5 separate regions of the Homo sapiens genome follow, and all the other regions are linked to region 2. The links are contacts of gene promoters, found by promoter capture Hi-C in human tissues and cell types (Jung and others, 2019). All regions are on one chromosome and are shown on one strand. The core of a region is centred on a gene start or on the middle of the fragment in contact, and the rest is flanking DNA. Distances in the headings are between cores, read along the strand shown.

Region 1 (2,700 bases), core at 122-2,621, 910 kb before region 2:
ATAATAATAAATTTAGATTCTAAAATTTAAAAATAAAAATACAAAATCGGTGATTTTCCTACATAACAGTAATTACTAATTCAAAGACAGAATGAAGGCATTATTGAAACTTAAAACAAAAATTATAAAACTTCTAAGAACAAACAAGAATAAACTTAACAAGAGATGTGGAAGACCAATGAACAAAAGAAAAAGCAAGTCTTCACTGACAGCTGTGAAAGAAGACCTGACTAACCGAAGCACCACACCATGTGTCTGAAAGGGAGGAGCCCGCATTATAGTCCAGGCTGCACTTCAGGGGATATGGATCCTGTGAGACTTGCAAACAACCTGCCACAAGCATCTGTTAAATAAATTCTTATATGCTATAGAGGTAATATTTTTGAAAAGTAGTAATATACTTTTTTTGAGATAGGATCTTGCTCTGTTGCCCAGGCTAGAGTGCAGTGGCATGATCAGAGCTCACTGCAGCCTCTACCTCCTCCCAAACAATCCTCCCGCCTCAGCCTCCCAAGTAGCTGGGACTCCAGGTGTGTGCCACCACGTCTGGCTAACTTTTTTATTCTTTGTAGAGACGTGGTCTCGCTATGTTGCCTAGACTGATAACCTGCTCTTTAAAGTTACTTTTCCAAATATGTAAGTTTCTTCCTAGTTGTTCCAGAGCATTTGTCTGGAGAGAGAGTTGAATTATTACAAAAAGAATGCAAGGAGAAGGACTTTAATATGCATGCAGTCTTTGACCTTCAAAATTGGACTTTGCCCTGTAAGTCAAGCCAGTTTCCTAAGAGGATTTTCCAAATTCTTTTTTCTCTCCCTTTCAACACACTGAATCAAGGACCAAACGAGGACCCAGCCCATGCAGATCTCCTATAACGTAGAAAGCTCCTCCATTCCACATGCGACAGCCATGTAGCCGAAGTTTGAAGCTCTAAGGTAGATGGAGGCCATGATATCCAGGCCTGGGAGAAGCCTGGTTCCTTCTGGCCCCAAAGGATGATGGGAAGGAGAGAGAAGAAAGGCATGAAGTGCAAAATGTGTGCAGCAGCTGCTAGGGAGCTTCAAAAACAAATGGGGAAGGCTACAGGAAGACAGGGCTAGAGGTGAATACACTGAGGCACTGATGTTATTTGGATGGGGAGTGTGGTCTGCAAAATCTAGGAATTCATGAAAATGTGACCTCATTTGTACATGCAGGGTGGTTAGTGCTGGCAATGTTTGTGTTACACCTATAAACACGCACAGACAGAAGTCTGAAGAGCTACAAGATGCAATCTTTATAGGGCTTCCTCTGAGCAGTGAGTTTGCAGGTGACTGCTTTTTATTTGGCATTTCTACATTTCTAAAACTTGCAACAATAAACATTTTACTTGTATAATAATGAAAGCAACAAAAGTTACAGCACCTTTAGAAAAATATTCAGAAGCATGCCCACCAAGTAGAACAGGTCTGCAAAGTGATCCACCTATTCACCAACGAAGAGAGCAGCTAGACCCCAGAATCATAAGCTTCATTGGTGTCATTTTAAAGATGCCAGCCAGGCGCGGTGGCTCATGCCTGCAATCCTAGCACTTTCGCAGGCCAAGGGCGGCGGATTGCCTGAGCTCAGGAGTTCGCAACCAGCCTGGGCGACACAATGAAACCCCATCTCTACTAAAATACAAAAAAATTAGCCAGGTGTGGCGGCGTGCGCCTGTAGTCTCAGCTACTCAGGAGGCCAAGGCAGGAGAATCGCTTGAACCCGGGAGGCAGAGGTTGCAGTGAGCCGAGATCGCGCCACTGTGCTCCAGCCTGGGTGACAGAGCGAGACTCTGTCTCAAAAAAAAAAAAAAAAGATGCCAACAGGTGGAAGAGGTCTCCTAGATTCACTGTCCTTGGGGATGTGTGGGAGCTGATTAATCCAAGGGGACTGCTTCTCCTGCCTTCCCTGGGCAGCATGTCCATGGGCTTTGAGACATGTATATGCAGTAAACATAGTGAACTTTCTTGAGCCTAAGTTTGCCCTCATGCACAACGAGGGAAGAACTGGAGACAGATTGAATCTGTGCAGTCTAAGATTTATTGCTCTCTGGATTTTCAAGTCTCTGTAATTTTCTGAAATCATTATCTAAAGATAATTGTGACACTTAGAATTATATTCATTGATATAACTAACATCTGTTGAACTAGACTCTGTGCCTGGTGCTGAGGCTGGGTAGAAAAAAGACAATCCATGCCTTCCAAGAGCTTTTTACCTAGGACAGGAGACAGAAATATAAATTATTACAACACACTGGGTAAATTCTGGGACCTAAATATTCACAAGGAAAGCACAAAAGGAGTCATTCATAAGCAATAATCTCCTTTCCTTTTCCTCCCCAACTATTTTAATAATTGCTAGAATAATTACACTTTACAAATGTATCTTTAGATCTCACAACAAACCTATTGTCCTCACATTACATAGGAGGCTTAGAGAGTTAAAGCTCTCACTGTTGCCCGGCATGGTGGCTCACCCCTGTAATCCCAGCACTTTGGGAGGCCAAGGTGGGTGGATCACCTAAGATCAGGAATTCGAGACCAGCCTGACCAACATGGTGAAACCCCATATCTACTAAAAATACAAAAAAATAGCTGGGTGTGTAATCCCAACTACTCAGGAGGCTGAGGCAGGAGAATCGCTTGAACCTGGGAGCAGAGGTTGCAGTGAGCCGAGATCGTGAC
Region 2 (2,700 bases), core at 200-2,699:
AGAAAATGGCGAGGGGGACTGTTGAGGTACAGGGAGGGGAGATGGCTGATACAGAAAATGAGGTACTGATGGAGGGGGATGAGTGACAGATGGAAATGGCTGAGGTGGAAAATGGGTTAATGATGGGTTGAAAGGGAGGAATGTGGAGAGTTGAAATAATGGAGGAAATGTCTGTGGAAAATGGATACCTGAAGGGTTTGAGAAAAGGAATGATAAGGGGTGCAATTCATTCAAATATGTGGGTGAGGCCGGAGGGGGGTTCCTGTATGTCACAGAGGGGATGAGGATGAGTTGGAGGAAGCAGGAAGGCAATGGAGGGGATGGCCGCGTGGAGGGTTTGACTGGGTATGGGTGTGAGTGCCCTTCTCCGGAGGGACTTACCGAAACTTTACAAACCCATTCAGCGTCCACGCTCGAAGTTTTAAGGGCTCCAGCTGAATTTTAAACATCAAGCTGGCTAAGAAGTCTTCTCCCCAGGAGTGTGGGAAGCTCCGGAAAGCTCCTCGGGCCTGCAGTGGGGGTGCTGCTGGGGGTGGGCAGGAGAGCACTGTGCGCTTAAACATGCCCAGCCAAGCCCCTCACCTCTGATCGCTCCACCGGAGCCGGCCTGAAGTGCTGCAGCTCTGGAAGCCACCTCCTTGGACTCTCAGAGGCGCGTGCCCAGCAAGGCCTGTCTGGCGCAGCAGGTGCCGGACCTGATCCCCAAATGTGGAGAGTGAAGGGAGAAGACCCGCGGCCACCTGCTCTCAGGTGCAGCAGTGTCTGGCTGGCTGTGAGCGGCTGTATGGCAGCGTGTCAGTGAGGCTGGGAGTGCAAGCGTGTGTTTGTGAGTGGCAGCGTGTATACCTGTGACAGGTGTGATTGTGAGGGCCCGAGAGGCAGTGAGCTCCTGTCGCCTCTCACTGGGGAGGACCCGACCCCAATCCCCAAGAACCTACTCAATGAAGTCACTGACGGGAGTCTCCTCCCTCGCAGATGGGCGGGGCAGAGCGGAGCTCGGCCGGGACAAAAGGCGCGGCGAGGAGAGGAGGGGAGGGGGCTCGGGCGGGGGAGGGTGGTCGGTGATGTCACCCGCGCTGGCTGGCTGGTCTGCTCACAGATGCCTCCGCCCCACAGAACCCAATCTGGTCCGGTCCGACTCGACCCTCCCCTCCCCTCCCCTCCCCGACTCAGACGCTGGCTGCCCCCTGTGACAGCCAAGCCCTGGTCTAGGACTCCGAGCACCCTGCAGACCCCGGGGCCCCGCATCCCCAAGGCAGCAGAGCCTACGGGCCCTCAGTGTCCCAACCCCCCAACACCAGGAGCCCTGGCTTCACGACGCCCCGCTCCCGGGACCCCCGAGTCCTGGCTTGGCGCCCTCACCGGTGAGGAGCTGCGGGCGCCGCCGTGGTCCGTGAGACAGCCGCTGCCCCCTCCCCCGGCTCCGGCTCCGCCGCCTCCACCCGGGACAGGAGTCGCCTGCCCGCCGGCCGCCGATAGCGGGACCGGGAGCCCGCCCCCACGGCTCCGCCTCCGCGCCGCCCATTGAACCGTCTTCCTGTCACTCAGCTCAGCCTCCACTGTGATTGGGCAGTTTTCAACAAGCGGCTTGGTGATAGCCGCCCATCCTCCGCCCCTGTCACCCGGCCACACGCGCACACATTCCAGGCAGTGATTGGTGTGGATCTGATTGGCGCCCTCTGGGATCACTCAACCACGCCTCTTTGCCATCTTGTCGTGCCATTGGTGAAAAAGACAGAGGGCGGCAACCTCGCTCGCCCTTTGATTTTATTGGTTCGTGCCTGAGACTCAGACCCGAGCCCGGGGGCAAACTATATTAGTCCAATCTCCGGGTTGAGAAGGTGGGACGTACTGGCCACTGCTCGAATCCCAGGAGAACCTTCTGGAACCCTTGCGACGTCAAAGGCAGCCTTAAAGGAAAACTGTACCCACCAGTTGGCCGTGCGGCCGTGCATTCTTTCCTTTCTTCATTGGGGGGCAAGAGGGAGAGAACAGTGCACTCTGGGAGGTGTAGTCCCTGGACCGGGGCCAAAAGGTCAGCACTTCTTACTCGCCTTTCAGCCAACGGTGTAACCACCTCAAGCTGACCTCATTTAGCTTTACCTTATCCTGACCCCGCGGTGGCCTGATGTGACCTAACGGAATCTCTAACAGACCCCACGGATGCCGGGTTTCAGAGCCCCCCGGACCTCTCCCCCGAGGGAAACGGATGGCTCTGCCCAGGCCGGTGCCTCCAGGAATCTCCCCCGCCCACCCTCTGTACAGCCCCTCATCCTCGCGCCCCTCTTCAGCGACCCCGCGGTCTCCATTTCAGTCCCTCTTCTAATCAGTCTCTCATCCTGCTTCCCCCTGGAGTGCCTGTGTTTTAGCCCTTTCCTTCTTGGCCCTAGATGATCTCCTGTCTTCCTTCCCGCAGTGATCCCTTTTGTCTTATTCTTGGTTCTTTCTTTACACCCCGATCTCCTATCCTAGCTCTCCCCTTTCATCTTTCATCTCACTCCCCAAGATCCCCTTCCTTAACACCCTCAGAATCTCTAGTCTCCCCCACCCCCCATTAAGTCATTAGATCTCAGCCCCAGTGTCCCCGATGCAGGGAGCAGGCGGGGCTGCGGAGGCGGTCGCCAGCGGAAGCCGCCACTCCAGCAGACACGGTGCCTGGCGCCCACGTCACTGTCTCCCAGGCCCATCTGTGCTCGAGGG
Region 3 (2,700 bases), core at 92-2,591, 760 kb before region 2:
GAACTGTGGGCACTCTGACCAGGAGCTCTAGCAAGACAGAATTCTCTGGGTCTTACCTTCGTAAGAACTCAATTTCAATTGTTCTCCCTTCCAGCCAGAGTCCACTCATTCAATAAATATTTATTGAGTGCTTGTTCCATGCCAGATAGTCCTTTGTTCTGTCTGTCCTCATAGATTGCAGTTACTCTCCCTGGTTGCCCTAATCCTCGGCCACACCCTCCCTCTACCAGTCCTTTCTGGTCTCTAGTTTCAAAGTCCGGTTTTCTCTAAGCTGGCAGAGAGGATTCTCTGCCTTCCTGTCATCCCATCCTTTGTCTTCCCTCTTCTTTCCACCCCTAGAATGTGCTGTCCCTTTTTATTTTATTATTATTTTTTTTTTGAGACAGTCTTGCTCTTGTCACCCAGGCTGGAGTACAATGGTGCAATCTCAGCTCAGTGCAACCTCCGTCTCCTGGGTTCAAGCGATTCTCCTGCCTCAGCCTCCTGAGTAGCTGGGATTGCAGGTGCCTGCCACCACAGCTGGCTAATGTTTTTGTATTTTTAGTAGAGACGGGGTTTCACCACATTGGCCAGGCTGGTCTTGAACTCCTGACCTCACGTGATCCGCCCACCTCGGCCTCTCAAAGTGCTGGGATTACAGGTGTGAGCCACCGTGCCTGGCCGCTGTCCCTATTCATTAATCACATTTCTTCTCCTCTGCTCCAGTCTGTTATCTCTCTTGTGCCCCATCATTTGTATGTTCATTCATCTGTAAAATTGGCAAATATGCATTGACTGCAGACCATATGTCCTACCCTGTGCTTGGACCTGAGGGTAATATTCAGCTAGTCTTTGTCATTGTCCCTTTCCCCAAGGAACTTAAAAGTATGTCAGCCTCACATGAGGAACATTGAAATAACAAGGCAATGTCTGATTAGGAATTGAGATAACAGTTTGTATATATGAGTAATAATCATACCTGTACTTTATGGCTTTCTTATCTATTATGTCATTTGATCTTTCAACCATTTCATTAGATAGCTAGAGCAGGTGGTATCCCCATTTTGTAGATGAGGAAACTGGGACTTAGGGGTTACTTACCCAATTATTTGGTTAGAAGTGGTGTGACTGAACAGTAGGCATAATGTGGCAGTAGGCAGGAGAGTGGAAATGGGAAAGAGTCTGGCAGGGCAGGGGCTACTTAGTGAGGACCCATCTGGAATGAGAATTTGTAGGAAATAAGATTAGAAGATAGGCTGGGACAGATGTCAGAGCCTTGAAAACAGAATCGTTTGCCTATTGAAAACAGCCTCAATCATTTGCCTCTTGGATATAGGGCTGTACCAAGCCCAGGAAAATGTTGGGATTTTTTGAAGGCTTTACCAAGAGCAAAATCAGAAAGCTTCACAGTTTAAATGTTGAATTTAAAAAAAAAAAAAAAAAAGGCTTGAGAGGAAATGTCCAGAAATAAATATAAACACTGATTGTCTATGGGTGAGATTATTTTTTTCCCCCTTTCACCTTTCATAATTAGAAAGAAAAATGATCATTTTAAAAAGAAGAAAGGCCAGAAGCGGTAGCTCACGCCTCTAATCCCAGCACTTTGGGAGGCCGAGGCGGGCGGATCACCTGAGGTCAGGAGTTCAAGACCAGCCTGGCTAACATGGTGAAACCCCATCTCTACTAAAAACACAAAAAAATGTGCCAGGCATGGTGGCGGGCACCTGTAATCCCAGCTACTTGGGAGGCTGAGGCAGAAGAATTTCTTGAACTTGGGAGGCGGAGTTTGCAGTGAGCCAAGACCGAGCCACTGCACTCCAGCCTGGACAACAAGGAACGAAACTCTGTCTCAAAAAAAAAATAATAAATAATAAAAATAAAGATAAGAAAGTTATTCCCAGCAGCCTATGCCTGTTTTGGAGGTAGGGGATTGGGGGCGGAGGCTGTAGGCCAGGAAACCATAAATGGTCCTTTCAGCACGTCAGACAGAAGCTCCTGATGTTGGAAATAAAGCAGTGGTGGTGGTGCTAGAGAGGTAAGGAGAGATCAGAAAGCCCCTTCTGAGGAGAACAAAGGAGAGAAACAAAGCCACTCCTTCACTTCAGCTGGGGTGACTGGGAAGATGAAGGGACCTTGAACTGTATAGAAATCAAGAGGAAGAAAGGTTTGAAAGCAGATGTCCTTGGGACATTTAATGGGAGGTCACAGAGAGAGGCAGGTGACTCAGCCTGTGAACAGCTGCCCACCTGCCCCCTTCCACTCACATTGCCTCTTGCTCCTCAGGTACCTGCAGTGGTGGTACCGGAAGACCCATGTGGAAAAGAAGACACCTTTCATCGACATGATCAATTCTGTACCCCTAAGACAGATTTATGGTGAGCCCCACCCCATCTCTGCTCTGCTCAGAGAAGGCCTAGCCTCCAGGTCTACCACAGTTAGGAAGAGACTTCCAGCTTATGCAAATTGCACTGTTCCATCCCCTAGGTTTTCAGAGGAACCAGGCTTTATAGTCTAGAAAGTTAGAAATGGGCTTATTTTCCTCTCCCAATACCCCACTAACCACCCTGATTTCTCTAGGTTGTCCCTTGGGTGGCATCGGGGGAGGCACTATTACCCGTGGCTGGAGAGGCCAGTTCTGTCGTTGGCAGCTTAACCCTGGAATGTATCAGCACCGGACAGTCATCGCTGACCAAGTAAGAGCCAGGAGGTGGAGAGGCCAGG
Region 4 (2,700 bases), core at 5-2,504, 530 kb after region 2:
CCCAAACAGCAAGAGCTGTGTTCCCACCTAGCCTGGAGCTAGGCACACAGCAAAGGGTTGGATAAAGAATGCCTTTGAGGCTGGGCGCCGTGGCTCACGCCTGTAATCCCAGCACTTCGGAAGGTCAAGGTAGGAGGATCGCTTGAGCTCAGGAGTTAGAGACGGGCCTGGGCAACATGGGGAAACCCCGTCTCTACCAAAAACACAAAATTTAGCCGGGCGTGGTGGCCTATGCCTTTGGTTCCAGCTATTCGTCAGGCTGAAGTGGGAGAATCGCTTGCACCCAGGAGGCAGAGGTTACAGAGAGCTGAGATGGCGCCACTGCATTCTAGCCTGGGCTACAGGGCGAGCCTCTGTCTCAAAAAAAAAAAAAGAAAGAAAGAAAGAAAAAGAAAAAGAAAAATTCCTTTGGGACAAGAATGTGAGAACAAGGAGGAAGGGACTCGTGGGAATGGGGATGGGGAAGTTAAGGAGAATAGACTGGTCAGAATGAGTCCATGGGGTAAAGTGAAGTGAAGAGATGGGAATGGTGGATAAAAGGAGAGAGGTAAGAAACGGTGGATTGGGGTAGTATGGGAGAGGAGGCCGGGATTAGTGGGAAAGAGTAGGACAGAGTCAGAGGTCAGTGGGAGCACTTACCAGAGGTCACGGGGGTGAGAAGGCTGGGGTCAACAGAGAAAAGATCAAGGATCAGTAGGAGAGGTATGATTAGTGGTCACTGGCGACGACGAAGGTCAGAGGTCATCAGAAGGAAGGTGTGCGTACGTTACCTGCTTATGAGGCTGTTTATGGGGAGCCTTCGCAGAAGCAGGAATCATCTCAACCCCTGGAGAGCCTACAAAACGCTCCCTCGTCTGAAGACAAAAAGTTTGTCCGTCTCCTTGACCACACACAAGAAATCTGGACTCTCTTCCACTTCAGTTACCAGTCGCAACGGTTCTTTAGGGACAGCCGTCGTTGTGGGTCCCCGTGCCCTTGCAGGATAGAATCCAACTCCCTGACGCGGTTACCCAGCAACCGACCAGCAGCCAAGGCGCAGGCGCTTCGGCGCGCCCAGCCGGCCCGGAAAGGAGGCGGGGTTGGGCGCGCGGCGAGCGAGTCTCCACTAAGCCCCGCCCCCTCAGGAATCACAGCTGGGCGGCCGCGCGCATTCGGAACTCCCGCATGTGGGTGGGGCTGGGGTCCCCAGGCACCGCCTCCTCATGAATAATGCAAGATCCGGGCGGTGTCCCGGACCCGGAAGTGGAGTTGCCGAGTCACCGCAGTGGCTGAGCTGCTGACAGGAGGCGGCAGCGGAGTAGGAGGCGAGGCAAGACCTGCGGCTCGGCCCGGCCACAGCCGCGGTAGTGCTAGGCAAGCCCACGGAGTCACGCCGGCCTCAGCCAGTCTGCGAACCTCTCGCCCCCGCCCACCCCTGCATCCGCCCGGCCCCTGCCCGCCCGAGTGGTCCGGGGAGGCCTAGTCTGCACCACCCGCCGGGCTCCTGGGGCCGCCGCCCCGCGCGGTCCTGTCGGCGTCCGCGGCCGCGCCCGGCCCCTGGCCCGCTCGCCCGCCGGCACCATGATGGAGGAGATCGACCGGTTCCAGGTGCCCACCGCGCACTCGGAGATGCAGCCGCTGGTGAGGGGGCGGGCGGCGGGCAGGCCAAGGCCGGAGGGGGCGTCGCTTGAGGGGGAGGGAGGGAATCAGGCCGGGGGGATCGTGCGGAGGGGCGCCATCGGATGGGGCAAAGAGATCCCTGAAAACGTATTGCCGGGGGACGGGGACTTGCAGGACAAGAAAACCGTGGGAGAATATGCTGGATGAGAGCAAAGGGACCTGTAAGGGCGGAGGGCACCGTCGGTGGAAGCAGGGCACCGTCGGATGGAACGGAGGGGGCACAAAGGTGCACACCGCTAGTGGAGGCCCATAGCAGGGACTGGCGAGGGAACTGCCATGGGGCACCGCCGGCGGCAGGCCCAGGGGTCTGGGATGGGAGGTGGGGAGGCGTTTAGTCCTAGAGGCCTGTGATGCTTAGGGCGGGGGAGCCGTCAGGCTAAGAGAGATTGGGAATCAGCTTTTAGAAGAGGAGGGGCTTGCCCGCCTGTCCGCTGGATATACGGACAGGAACGCTGGGCCGGGGCGAGGGACCCAGTGGGGGAAGGTGGTTGGTGCAGAACCTGGGAATTCCGTTCTCCGGTGGGGAGCGCAGGCAGACCAGGCTGGGGGCATCTAAACCGGGAAGGAGAGTGCGCGGCGACCAGATGGGGAATCGGGGTGCAGATGAGAGTGCTCGGGAACCGACGGGAGAGGAAGTGGGGTCGCGCTGGAGCTGCCTGTGCGCACTGGTTGGGAAGAGCCCCCATCATCTTAGGCCTACGTGCCTGAAGTCCTTGCTGGGCGCGGATCCTGCCGCCTGTCCGCGGTCCCGGAGTCAGGGAGGAATGATGTCATCGCTGCTGGCGCGGAGGGAATGGAAGGGGGAGGGCAACTCGGGTGCACCGAGGCTAGGCCTAAGGGAGACCATGCTTGCTGGCCACCGCCCAGGGGGCTCCCTGACCTCGCTTGTCTGTCAGGCAACCGGGTGGGAGACGTGGAGGCCTAGCCAGCTCGTATAGTGAGGGGGGAAGAGAGGGAATGTCTAGGCTGTGTTCGCTTTATCCCCCTGGAGCCTGAGCTGGAATTGGAAGGAGGCAAGGTGGGCTACAAATCCGAAAGTGT
Region 5 (2,700 bases), core at 154-2,653, 620 kb before region 2:
ATTAGCCATGTGCAACAATTTAAATAATTTAAAAAATTTTTTAATCAAGTTGACCCACAAAAAATAATCTAAACAATGAAAATAATTTAAATTTAACCACATGTGGCTAGTGGCTACTGTATTGGACAGCACAGATAGAGAACATTTCCGTCACTGAAGAAAATTCTATTGGACAGCACTGTTCTAGGGGATACAGAGAATAAGACCAGTTGAGGCCTTTTATATGTGGTTTGCCTAAAGGAAAGTTCAGGAAAGCCTCCCCTGAGAGGAGATCCTGTTGCCTCTCACTAGTCCTCCGTAGATCCACCAGGCCTGTTGACTCCCTTTATCCTTGGGGGTGAAGGGGGGTGGGGATCCCTCCTTCCTGGCCTATCCTCACCTCTGTAAGAGCGTGCAGCTGTCCCTGGTGCACACAGACTCCCATGAACCTGCAAGAGGATGGGGAAGATAGAAGGATAGGCTATTAAAGGCCTCAGCTCCTCCTCAGTTCCACTTTTCCCGCGGGATCTTTCCCTTTCTCTCCCGCCCAGCAAGCTGCCCAGAGACTGGGGCCGCTCACCTTAGGATGTTGGGGTGCCTGAGCCGGTTCATCAGCTGCACTTCCCGTAGTGTGTTGCCCCGGTTACTGGGGAGCTTGTTCATCTTCAGCACCATGACTTGCCCTGACTGTCGGTGCCGAACCTGGGGGCAGGAGCAGCCGGCGAGGGCCGGGCAGGTCGGGCGGGTCGCCGGAGTCTGGACCCTCTTCCCCGCACTCCCGGCCCCCTAGTTTCAGCCTCTGGTTGAAGGCTCGGTCCCGCCCCTCTGCCCTCTCGGCCGGTCCTACCTTGTAGACCTCAGAGAAGAAGCCGGCCCCGATCTTCTCCGCGCAGTGAAAATCGTCCACACGCGCCAGGCTAGACACGGCGCTGCGGAGAGCCCGGTAGGAGGAGGGGCGGCCCCGGCCCGGGCCTCCGCCCGTGCCCCCCGGCCCCGGGGGCCCCTCCCCCGGCACCTCTCCAGGCCCGGGCCCAGGGCCCCGCAGTGGGGGCCGTTCCCCGGCCATGGCCGGGCCCCCAGCCCGGGCCTGCCTCACATGGCAGGGTCCCCAGGGCCCGGGCAGGCCGCGCTTGCCATGGGCGCGGGCCCAGCCCGATCCCGGGCGCCCGGACTCCGGCTCCCGCCCTGAGAATGGAAGATCCGCCGAAGATCCTGGACCCGCCCCCGCCGCGCCGGCTGGCTGGGCCCGGGTGGACGCCGCGCCGCTCCGCTCCGCGCAGGGCCTGGGCTTGGGCCTGGACCGGGCGGTGGCGGTGACGGTGGCGGCAGCGCTCCGGGGCGCCGGCGGGCTGGCTTGCCGCGGGCGGAGGCGGGCGGGCGGGCGGGCGGCGGCTGCTCCGCTTAGCCGCCGGGGATCAGGCTCCGCGGCCTGCCGGGGGCGGGGCTGGGCCGGGCCTCCGCTTAACTCCTTCCAGCCCGGCCTCCCGGCAGCGGCCACGCCCCCTCAGGTGCGCACCCCCGCCTCCCCGCTTTCCGGCCGCGATGCCCTGGGCCGCCCGGGTCAAATAAGCTCCGGCCTGAGCTTGAATAACGGGAGGGAATTAAGGGCTGATGGTGCGCATGCGAAGCTTAGCTGCCCAGGGAGTCCCCTCTCCTCCCTGGGTTACTGTCCGTTGAGGGTCGGGCTCAGAAACCTGCCGGATTCCTGGGCTCCAGGGACCAACGGGGCAGAAAGGTAGGCCCCTCAGGCCCAGCCGCAATCAGAGGTAGCCTAGCAACCTGTCCACCTTCCTGGCCTGCGCCCCGGCCCAGCCTGCCCATTTCCCAGGTCTCTTCGACTCCGACACCTTGAACCTCTGGCCTCCCTAACACCTTCTACCTTCACGGGAGGTTGTGATACCCCGGGGCTATAGGAAGCCTTTGGCCGGCCCATACCCAGCTTAGCCCCGACTCCTCCTCACTTCATCCTGCCGCCTCCCAATAAAGAAGAGAGTCCAGGTCCTCCGCCCTGTGACCACCCAGCCGGGACCTCCCTCTTACTACTTTGCCCAAAAGACTCTAAGAGAGAAGCCTCCACCTGCAGGGAAGCCCGTCCTTCCGCAAGATCCCACCCCCCTCAAAGAACGCTGTCCCTCGGAGACCCCTCCCTTCCTCAGTGAGACACCTCCCTTTCGGGGGCACTTTTCCCCAGTGTGGCACTGCCACCGTCAGTGTGTCAGAACCCCTCAGTGCTGCACCCCCTTGCTCTGTGTTCCTCCCACGCAGTGAGACCCCACCTCCGAGGAAATCCACTAGTCATTGTGACCCCTCCTCTCAAGGTGACTCCTCCCCTCAGTGTGACCCAGCCCTCCTCAGTGTGAGGGTTCCGCCCTCCACGTAGGAACACGGTCTGCCCCCTAAGGCCGGAGGAGGGGCTGCAACTGGCCTCTTTAAGTCGGCGCGGTGCCTGGGTGCGCACGCAGTCTCAGGACTCCGTGCACTCGCCGTACCAGACGCTTCCGGTTCTGCCGCTGGTTCCTCCTCCGGCCTCGGCGAAATAGCCAATCATCGCTAGGGTTGGGTGGTGACACGCGATCCCGGCGGTCCACTCCGGGGCAAACGGTTTAAAAGGGCGTCGTTGAGCCGCCTGCCACCTAGCGGCGGAACGGTGGGCGGAGGGAGAGAAAGCTGCCGTCTCGAGTGCGGAGGCAGGCTGAGAGCTCCTCGAGGAAGCGAGGCTGA

Evidence for each region. The method cuts DNA at HindIII sites, captures the fragments that hold promoters and counts their contacts. A contact is called where the count stands out against the background at its distance.
Region 1: a contact is called between a fragment that was not itself captured here and the fragment with the promoter of DNAJB5 in region 2, in 1 of the 25 tissues and cell types used here (spleen).
Region 3: a fragment that was not itself captured here is called in contact with the fragment with the promoter of DNAJB5 in region 2 in 1 of the 25 tissues and cell types used here (dorsolateral prefrontal cortex).
Region 4: the fragment with the promoter of FAM219A here is called in contact with the fragment with the promoter of DNAJB5 in region 2 in 1 of the 25 tissues and cell types used here (hippocampus).
Region 5: a contact is called between the fragment with the promoter of TESK1 here and the fragment with the promoter of DNAJB5 in region 2, in 1 of the 25 tissues and cell types used here (spleen).

The regions. Positions count from the first base shown.
Region 1 is chr9:35,894,334-35,897,033 of GRCh38, reverse strand. No RefSeq gene overlaps it. Among named protein-coding and RNA genes, the nearest start is that of HRCT1, 11 kb to the left of the region's middle. RefSeq lists an enhancer at 1,145-1,644. The HindIII fragment of the contact is 7,635 bases long and covers 1-2,700 here.
Region 2 is chr9:34,988,494-34,991,193 of GRCh38, reverse strand. It overlaps DNAJB5 (DnaJ heat shock protein family (Hsp40) member B5), which reads right to left and starts at 1,449. Exons shown (of 5, transcript NM_001349723.3): 1 at 1,363-1,449; 2 at 382-695. The coding sequence starts at 563. It overlaps DNAJB5-DT (DNAJB5 divergent transcript), which reads left to right and starts at 1,815. Exons shown (of 2, transcript NR_109756.1): 1 at 1,815-2,035. RefSeq lists enhancers at 1-334, 335-1,264, 1,819-2,028 and silencers at 1,546-1,694, 1,209-1,708. The HindIII fragment of the contact is 21,862 bases long and covers 1-2,700 here.
Region 3 is chr9:35,744,269-35,746,968 of GRCh38, reverse strand. It overlaps GBA2 (glucosylceramidase beta 2), which reads left to right. Exons shown (of 17, transcript NM_020944.3): 2 at 2,263-2,354; 3 at 2,557-2,672. Among named protein-coding and RNA genes, the nearest start is that of GBA2, 3.6 kb to the left of the region's middle. The HindIII fragment of the contact is 5,426 bases long and covers 1-2,700 here.
Region 4 is chr9:34,457,124-34,459,823 of GRCh38, reverse strand. It overlaps FAM219A (family with sequence similarity 219 member A), which reads left to right and starts at 1,254. Exons shown (of 6, transcript NM_001184940.2): 1 at 1,254-1,620. The coding sequence starts at 1,561. DNAI1 (dynein axonemal intermediate chain 1) reads right to left here and starts at 1,019. Exons shown (of 20, transcript NM_012144.4): 1 at 771-1,019. The coding sequence starts at 818. RefSeq lists enhancers at 893-962, 1,059-1,353, 916-1,456, 2,588-2,700 and a silencer at 1,333-1,582. The HindIII fragment of the contact is 10,660 bases long and covers 1-2,700 here.
Region 5 is chr9:35,603,965-35,606,664 of GRCh38, reverse strand. It overlaps TESK1 (testis associated actin remodelling kinase 1), which reads right to left and starts at 1,403. Exons shown (of 10, transcript NM_006285.3): 1 at 827-1,403; 2 at 560-681; 3 at 380-428. The coding sequence starts at 1,045. RefSeq lists silencers at 538-797, 579-873, 808-977, 998-1,297, 1,328-1,577 and an enhancer at 2,058-2,167. The HindIII fragment of the contact is 8,874 bases long and covers 1-2,177 here.